Regions from separate parts of the Homo sapiens genome. Here all the other regions are linked to region 3. The links are contacts of gene promoters, found by promoter capture Hi-C in blood cells and fetal thymus (Javierre and others, 2016). All regions are on one chromosome and are shown on one strand. Each heading gives the region's core, a stretch centred on a gene start or on the middle of the fragment in contact. The rest is flanking DNA. Distances are from core to core; before and after follow the strand shown. Region 1 has its middle 11 kb from the start of RTL8A. Region 2 has its middle 56 kb from the start of RBMX. Region 3 holds the start of SLC9A6 (solute carrier family 9 member A6).

What was found. Contacts are between HindIII fragments. The CHiCAGO score rates a contact against its expected background, and 5 or more counts as called.
Region 1: a contact is called between a fragment that was not itself captured here and the fragment with the promoter of SLC9A6 in region 3, in 1 of 17 cell types (neutrophils). The highest score is 5.0, in neutrophils.
Region 2: a contact is called between a fragment that was not itself captured here and the fragment with the promoter of SLC9A6 in region 3, in 1 of 17 cell types (activated CD4 T cells). The highest score is 5.1, in activated CD4 T cells.

What each region holds. Positions count from the first base shown.
Region 1 is chrX:135,061,582-135,064,703 of GRCh38, forward strand. No RefSeq gene overlaps it. Among named protein-coding and RNA genes, the nearest start is that of RTL8A, 11 kb to the left of the region's middle. The HindIII fragment of the contact is 5,064 bases long and covers 1-3,122 here.
Region 2 is chrX:136,935,535-136,938,412 of GRCh38, forward strand. No RefSeq gene overlaps it. Among named protein-coding and RNA genes, the nearest start is that of RBMX, 56 kb to the left of the region's middle. RefSeq lists enhancers at 14-113, 194-343. The HindIII fragment of the contact is 9,577 bases long and covers 1-2,878 here.
Region 3 is chrX:135,984,012-135,986,978 of GRCh38, forward strand. It overlaps SLC9A6 (solute carrier family 9 member A6), which reads left to right and starts at 1,424. Exons shown (of 18, transcript NM_001379110.1): 1 at 1,424-1,466; 2 at 1,592-1,816. The coding sequence starts at 1,648. RefSeq lists a silencer at 1,315-1,554 and an enhancer at 1,705-1,824. The HindIII fragment of the contact is 4,728 bases long and covers 1-2,962 here.

The DNA.
Region 1 (3,122 bases), core at 34-2,533, 920 kb before region 3:
CCCGTATCAGCCCCTAAAAGTGAAACTGTGTCCATTGTGGGTAGCTGATGGAGATGGGGGAACAATCAGAGTATATGTGCCATTTACTGTATCAAATTTGGCTTTATGCAAGGAGAAATTTGGCTGGTTTTTGGAGGATCCATGGAAGTTTATAGAGGAGTTTGATACATTTACCATGTCCTCTGAAATAACTTGGCATAACTTGTGCTTATTATTATCCACTTGCTGTACCATAGACATAGAGGAGAAACAAAGGATTCTAGGTATTACCCATGAATTTTCAGATGGAGTGGCCAATAATATCCAAGGCCATGCCATTTATAATGTGGGGGGAGAGGCAGTTCCTTATTTGCACCCTCAATGGGATTCCCAGAGGGGTTCCCAAGATCTCAAACACAGAAATTACATGCTAACTTGTTTAGTAGAAGGTATGAAAAAGTGTGTGGTTAAACCAGTTAGTTGTGACAAGGTTAGAGAAGTAACTCAGGGAAAATATGAAAATGCCACTTTATTTCAAGGCCACTTAGTGGAGGCCCTCAGGAAATATACTAATGCAGATCCTGACTCTCTGGAAAGGTGAGCTCTCCTGGTCATGTATTTTATTACTCAAACTATCTCTGACATTAGGAGGAATTTACATAAGGCAGCAATAGAGCATCAAATCCCCATGAGCCAACTTTTAAATATGGCCTTTGGAATTTACAATAATAGGGACAAGGTGGAGAAAGAGGTGAAAACTAAAAGTAATAGCTAAAAAGTGCTATTATTCGTGGCTGCCTTAAGCCCCTTACTGCCTTAGGGTTACAAATGTCAAGAAAGTGTTACGAGAGTCGTGGTTGGGATGCCCAGATGAAAGCCTCTGACTTCTTGGCCCCTGGGCCAAAATCAATGTGCCTATAAGCAAGAGGAACACTGAAGGAAGGACTGCCCCAGGCTTGAAAGAGAGTCTGAACCACTCAGACCCATAATGGCTGAGAGAACAGAGGACTGACAGGGCCTGAGGTCTCTTATGGTTTCCAATGGACACCTTACTATCTCCATAGAGGAGCTTTGGGTAACTCTTGATGTGGCAGGCAAAAATAATGAGTTTTTGGTGGACATGGGAGCAGACTTCTCAGTTTCAACCTATTTCTCAGGGCCATTGTTTTCCCACTCTTGTACCATAATGTAGATTGATGGCCAGCCAAAAGTTAGGTGATTCACCCACCCCCTCAGTTACACTGTGGGGAATCATGTGTTTTCCCATATCTTTCTGCTTATGTCTGAGTGCCCTATTCCTTTACTGGGAAGAGACTAACTTTCCCAATTACAGGCCACAGCTCAATTTGGAGAGCCTTATGAGAAGGCAATAGGCCAGGGAAAGACACTTCTTCTAGCTCCAAGTACATGCCTTAACACAGATAAATAAAAGACCTCTCTTTCACTGCATCTTACTTCTCAAGTAGACCTCTCTGTTTGGGACATGAAAGTTCTTGGTAGAGATGTTAATGTACTCCCAGTCCAGGTTATTTTGAAACCCAGAGTTAAGTATCCATACAAAAAACAACGTACCTTGAGACCTGAAGAGCAGAGAGGCATTCAACCCCTAATAAGGAAGTTCCTAAAGTATGGATTACTACAGTCCCGTCAGTCCCTACGTAACACCTCCATTTTGGTTGTGAAGAAACTGAATGGGGAATACAGATTTGTTCAGAATCTGAGGGCAGTTAATGAGGCAATAGTCCCAGTCCACTGAATAGTTACTAATTCATACACAATATTGACCCAAGTCCCTGAAGATGTTAATAGTTCATGGTATTAGGCTTAAAGGATGCTTTCTTTTGTATACCTTTACACGTGGACACCCAGTATATCTTTGCTTTTGAATGGACTGATCCAGACATTCATGCTGCATCTCATCTTACGTGGGCTGTTCTTCCTCAAGGTTTTAGGGACAGTCCCCATTTCTTTGTCAATACATTGGCAAAAGAATTAAGGAAACTCTAGTTAAATAATGGGTCTCTTTAGCAATATATGGATGATCTATTAATTTCCAGCCCAACCAGGGAAGGCTGTGACAGGAACACAATCCAGATTCTTAATTTTTTTGAGAAGATGAGGTTATTGGGTATTCCTACAATAAAGCCCAAATTTCTGCACAAAAGGTTAAATATTTGGAGTATGTGTTAACTCCTGGGGCAAACACCCTGGCCCAGGAGTAAAAAGAGACCATCTTGGCACTCCAGCCCCCTCAGACTAAGAAACAATTAAGAATCTTTCTGGGAATGGCCAGATTCTTCTGGATTTGGAGTCCCAGGTTTGGGCTCATAGCAAAACCACTCTATGAAGCTCTAAAAGAGAGTGATCATGAGCCTTTGAATTGGGATGGAACCTGCCAACAGGCATTCTTAACCCTAAAAGAAAAATTGGGAACAGCCCCTGCTTTGTGACTCCCAAACTTAGAAAAACCTTTCACCCTATATGTGGCTGAAAAACAAGGGACAGCTTTGGGTGTTCTAACTCAAAGTCTCGTGAATAGCCCTATACCAGTGGCTTACTTTTCTAAACAGCTAGACCAAGTGGTGGCTGGGTGGCCAGGATGCTTTTGAGCTGTGGCCACCACCACTCTATTGGTAGAAGTCAGTAAGTTTACCTTGGGACAACAATTAGATGTAATGACCTGCCCCCATCAAATACAGGGGATCCTAGAGGCAAAAGGACACCAATGTCTAACAGTGGTTCAATTACTTAAATGTCAGGTTCTTCTATGTGACACCGCAGATGTTACTTTTAAAATATGTTGTTTTAAATCTTGCTACCCTGTTGCTGGACTTCACGTCCCAGTCCCCAACTCATTCACTCCTGTGTGGAAACTATGGAACAGAGCTCCTCTAGCAGGCCTGACCTTAAAGATGAGTCCCTGCCTAACCCCAATGTTGAGTGGTTTAGAGATGGAAGTAGCTTTATTCATGAGGGATTAAAAAGGCAAGTTATGCTGTGGCTAGTCAACAATAAGTCATTGAGGCCAAAGCTCTTCCTCCCCAGACCTCTGCTCAAAAAGTGGAATTGAATGCTCTAATTAGGGCCCTCCAACTGGGAAAAGACTTAAGAATCAATATATTTACTGATCCAAACATGGGTTC
Region 2 (2,878 bases), core at 345-2,844, 950 kb after region 3:
CTGACCTATTTTTCTCTCGAGACAAAACAACATTCACACTACAAGAAGGAAAGGGTAAAAGGTCACTCACTCGTCTATTTCACACTAAATCAAAATCAAAACTAAAACCAAAGTGTCGTTAAAGGCACCTCTGTTCGTCAAGCAATTTAAGCCAAGTCAAAATCAGAACCAAAACCAAAGTGCCAATAAAGGCATGCCTGTTTATCAAGCAATTCAAGTCAAGTCAAAATCAAAACTAAAACCAAATTATCAAGCAATGCAAGTCAAGTCAAAAACAAAACCCAAAGTGCCGGTACAGGCACGCCGTGGGTGATCATGCCATGCTTCCACTCAAATGGAGTGGGCAAGTTCCAAAGACCAGTCTTACCAAGTTTCAGATGTCCAGACTTAAAGTGCCAGTTCCTTCCCAGTGTTCAGCCACTGCATTGGTCCTTCATGTGGGCTTGCCATGCACCGCTCTGATGAGGCGTTGTACCGGGGCAAATGCCTGCCTGGGAGCGCTCATCAGGATCTACATTGCTCAAGCTGGCCGGAGTCCCCCACAGGGATGCTCTACAGGGCAGGCATAAGCTGCCTAAGGGGCTGTGTCGACCGTCCATTAATCACCTCGCTTCCCGGTCAGGGAACCAAGAAATGTAGCAGGACAAGCTGCAGACAAAACTCCTCAGACATCAGATTAAAGAAGGAAGAGGTTTATTCAGCCAGGAGCATCAGCAGACTTGTGTCTTAAGAGCCAAGCTCCCTGAAAAAGAAATTCTTGGCCTTTTTAAAGGCTTACAACTCTTAAGAGGTCCACATGAAAAGGTCATGATAAATTGAGCAAGTGTGGGGAACGTGACTGGGGGATACATGCATCAGCTAACAGAACAGAAAGTTTTGCAATACTTTTTCATACAATGTCTGGAATTTACAGATAACACAAGTAGTTTAGGTCAGGGGTTGATGTTGTTATTATTACTTTTTTAACTCCTAGGGCCGGGTAGTGGTGCCAAGGTTGTCTGGCTATTTATCTTACTTTTGTTTCTTTCCAACTTTTTGCTTTGTCTTTTCTCCTGTCTTGTGAACTAGGCAAGGTAGGGGGAGGAGGGCAGCAGGAGTAGTAGTGGTCTCCTTCCTTAGAATGACCCAGACAGAGTTCTTAATTTTGTGATGTACTGGGGAACACAATTTACTAGGGGATATAAATGTGTAAATACACCAACTACAATTTGATGTAAGTGACAATAGAGATATGAGCTGAGTGCTGTGAGAACACAGTACAGAATTCTCTTTAGTAATTTAGCAGGTTAGAAGTAGAGGCTGTCGCGTGTGATGAGTCTGGAGAGATAGGTGGGATCCAGATACTGAAGGACCTTTACCTATTACATTGAGTACTTAGTTTATGCCGAGCAGTGGTTGATATACTTTGCCTGAGTTGATTTAATCCTCACAGCATCCTGTGGGTACTGTTACCATCTTTACATTACAGGTACAGAAACTGATACACTAAGAGGTTACAACATGGCAAAGATCACACAAGCTAGTACAGAACATATCTGAGCTTTGAATATAGGTAGTTTTATTTTTTTCTTGTTTTTTTTTTTTTGAGACCTAGTCTCACTCTTGTCACCCAGGCTGGAGTGCAGTGGCATGATCTCACTCACTGCAACCTCTGCCTCCCGGGTTCAAGCAATTCTTCTGCCTCAGCCTCCCGAGTAGCTAGGATTACAGGCATGTGCCACCATGCTTGGCTTATTATTTTGTATTTTTAGTAGAGATAGGGTTTCACAATATTGGCCAGGCTTGTCTCAAACTCCTGACCTTGTGATCCGCCCGCCTCAGCCTCCTAACATGCTGGGATTATGGGCGTGAGCCACCACACCTGGCTTTTTTTTTAAAAATTGAGACGGAGTCTTGCTCTGTCACCCAGGTTGGAGTGCAGTGGCGCGATCTCGGCTCACTGCAACCTCTGCTTCCTAGGTTTAAGCAATTCTCCTGTCTCAGCCTTCTGAGTAGCTGGGATTACAGGTGCATGCCACCACGCCCGACTACTTTTTATATTTTTATTGGAGAGAAGGTTTTGCCATGTTGGCCAGGCTGGTCTCAAACTCCTGACCTCGTGTGATCTGCCCCCCTCGGCCTCCCAAAGTGCTGGGATTACAGCTGTGAGCCACTGCCCAGCCGAATATATGTAGGTTGACTATGGATCTACATCCCTAACCACTATGCTGTGCTTTTTCTCTCTAGTAGTATGGATATACTTTCTTACTAGCGTATGCAAATCTACTAGCTGTATTTTATTTCTCTGTGTGGTTTTACTATAATTTATTTAACTGGATTGATAGAGATTGTTGGTTGTTTCTAGTTTTTAGCAGTTACACATAGTGCTTTAGTGAGGAGTATTTACTTCCCACCTCAAGCTGATTGGGGCACACTCTCACATGATCACTCTTCCCTTCTTCATCATTACTGTATTAAATGATCTCCAAAATTCCTTCAGGGCCATCACCCTAAATTCTGAGATTTGCAGAGCCATAATTCTTAATCTCAAGAGCTGTATATATTGTAGATTACTTAATGTGGTAATTGTCAAGGCTCGTTTGTACTTTTTTTTTTTTTTTGAGATGGAGTCGTCTTTTGTTGCCCAGGCTGGAGGGCAGTGGCACGATCTCGGCTCACTGAAACCTCCGCCTCCTGGGTTCAAGAAATTCTCCAGCTTCAGCCTCCCGAGTAGCTGGGACTACAGGCACGTGCCACTGCGCCCAGCTCATTTTTATATTTTTAGTAGAGAAGGGGTTTCACCATGTTGGCCAGACTGGTCTTGAACGCCTGACCTCAAGTGATCTGCCCACCTCGGTCTCCCAAAGTGCTGGGATTACAGGCATGAGCCACTGCACCC
Region 3 (2,967 bases), core at 174-2,673:
TTGGGACAGTTCCTGACCTGACAGGGACAGAAAGTGGAATTGGACATCGTTTGAGTGCTTTTTTTGTTTAGCTCATCATCCTGAGAGCTTAGAGAGCTGGTTAGTGAGGGTGAATACACACAGGGGCAGCTTGGAGTTGCCTGAGTATTACTTGTTTTAGCAAGGAGGTTATATGGCCATGAGATGGAAAGAACCATTTGAGAATCATGAGTTCCAGGCAGAATGATAGGAATTGAACTGACAGTGGTACCACTGATGGTATGAAGAATTTGAGAAGGAATTTGTACTTGCAGGGGGAACTCATTTCAAATGAGCTCATTTCAAAATATTTTTAGTTTTGAGGGTGGTAGGAGCCTCAACAGGGTATGCTCAGAATCCAACAGGTAGAGGCCTGAAGTTGGGGCAGCAGGCCAGGGCTTGAGACTTGTAGATCATTCATGTTGAAATCAAAGTCTTGAGAAAACAAAGAGCCCACACAAACTAAGGAGCGATCGGAGAAATACAGAAAAAATAGGAAGTCACTGTTCTCAAAAGACAAAGCTCCAGTATGGAGGTGAGAACTGTGAAAATTCTGGTGAGAGAGGTTGGACAGGCTGAGAACAGAAAAAAAATACTGTCCTGAGGAATACTAAAGAGGAGAGATGAGAGATAGGGGTCAAGGGTGACTTCGGAGCTGGGGACATTTGCTTTAAAACAGCAGTAAAAAGGAGCAAGAGGAGAAGGAGAAATCCACCACACCACCCAAGATTTTTTCTTCGGGAGGGAAGTGTTTACGAGCATTGGGAAATCTAAGCACAAACCGATCCAATCTTTGCTGTAAGGTTGATGAGTTTCTGTGTACAGATTCCTAGCGTGAGAGATGACTTATATCAGATGTTTACATGTAAAGAAAACCGACTACACAGACACACACATAATCCATACCTTTGAGTCGATTGTTTTATGAACTGCTACAGTGCTCTGTGTGTGTGTGGTGTTTTTTTGTGTTTTTTTTTTTTTCTTTCCCGATGAGGACAATACAAGGAGAATCCGATTTAAATTTAAATTACAGAGATGGAGATTGAGGCTCCTCCCAAGGGGACAACTTATCCTGTTAAGAGACACTGGGGGACGATATTGAGATGGGTTATGAAAGATCAATTCCTATGAAAGATCAATTCCCCTGAGAGCTCTGAGAATAGGATCAAAGTAGAAAGCGCAGTCTGCCTCTGCTTGGTTACACTGAGCCGATGTTTCTTTAGCCAAAGGCAGTGGGCTAGTTTAGACGGCCTTTCATTCCCGGCAGCGCCTGTGGGTGCGTGTGACCTGGGACAGAGGGGCAAAGGAACCTGGCAGAGCGAGCTTGGGATGCCGCGGCCCCTTTAAGAGCGGCGGCGGCGGCGCGCGCTCCGACGGCTACCCCCGGGCCCCGCCCCTTTCCCGTGAGCCCTCGGGGAGTGGTCCGACCGCGGGCGGCCGCCGGTGAGGTAGGGGCGGGAGGCGGGGGGAGACATGGCTCGGCGCGGCTGGCGGCGGGCACCCCTCCGCCGTGGCGTCGGCAGCAGTCCCCGAGCCCGCAGGCTCATGCGGCCCCTTTGGTTGCTCCTCGCAGTGGGCGTCTTTGACTGGGCAGGGGCTTCGGACGGCGGCGGCGGAGAGGCTAGAGCCATGGACGAGGAGATCGTGTCCGAGAAGCAAGCCGAGGAGAGCCACCGGCAGGACAGCGCCAACCTGCTCATCTTCATCCTGCTGCTCACCCTCACCATTCTCACAATCTGGCTCTTCAAGCACCGCCGGGCCCGCTTCCTGCACGAAACCGGCCTGGCTATGATTTATGGCAAGTTCCTCAACCCTTGTCAGCCCCTTGGCGCTGCCCCTTTCTCTGCCCGCCGGCTGCTTCGCCTCCTCTGCTGGCCCTGCTCGGCCTACGTTCGGCTCCCCTTCTAATTCCTTCCATTTTCTGCCTCGCCTTCCCCCTACCCCGCGTTTCTCTGCCTCACCCCCTTTCCTCTTCAGCCTCGCGCCCCATTTTATCTGCCTCTCCACACCTTTTTCGCTTCCGACCCCACCCCCTTTTTCCTCCGCACCCCCAGCCCCCCACCCTTTCCCTGCCTACCAAGCTCGGGACCCGGGGCTGAGGATGGAAAACGAGTGGGCGCGGTGTCTGGAATTGGGCTGGGGGCTGGGGGAGGGGAGACACCATTGCGATCCATTTCTCTGGGGTGTCAGTTTGTTTAAGGTTCATTGAAACTGCAGTAGTATCTCTACTGCCCAGAATCTGGCGTTCTTTTGGAGCCAGAGTCGACCTTTACTCAACACCTAGCTCCTGCTACGCCCTGTCCTTTCGAGGTTGCAAAGGAAAATCTTATTCTTGTGGAGTCCGAAAAAAAAAACCCGAACGTGAAATAGGCTACAGAAGGCTTAGGGCATTTTTAATGACATCCCATTTATTGTACTATGCCTCTAATATCTGATATGGATACCTGTGGTTGACCCTTCCAATTCAGGCATACAAAAGTGAGGACGAGGAAGAGTTAAGGTCCTTCCAGAAGTATAGTGTACTATACGATGATCAGGACAGTTCAGACAAACAGTAATTACAAACACCATGCATATGCAGTATGGGTGACTTGCTGTTGGCATGAGGTTATTGACCGATTGTAGAATAAATGGCTTCGATTCTTGTGTCTCAGTCTGCTTTCTGAGGTTTATTATTATTATTATTATTATTATTTTGGTGACAAGGCGAGAAGGGGTAAATCAAAGTGTGGGCTCAGAGGCATTTTGAGCTGTGCTGGGGCCTCAAGAGGAGAAAAGATACATATTGCCGACTGTATTAATCTGTGCGGGTATTGCTAAAGAGATGAGGGCGGACAAACAATTCTTTCTGTGCAGTACATGTGTGAAGATTATCTTCATTTGGAGCAGTTAAACCGATGAGCTTGTTGAGGTTTGTCTCTCAGACTTGCAGATAGGTAGATGAAGCTT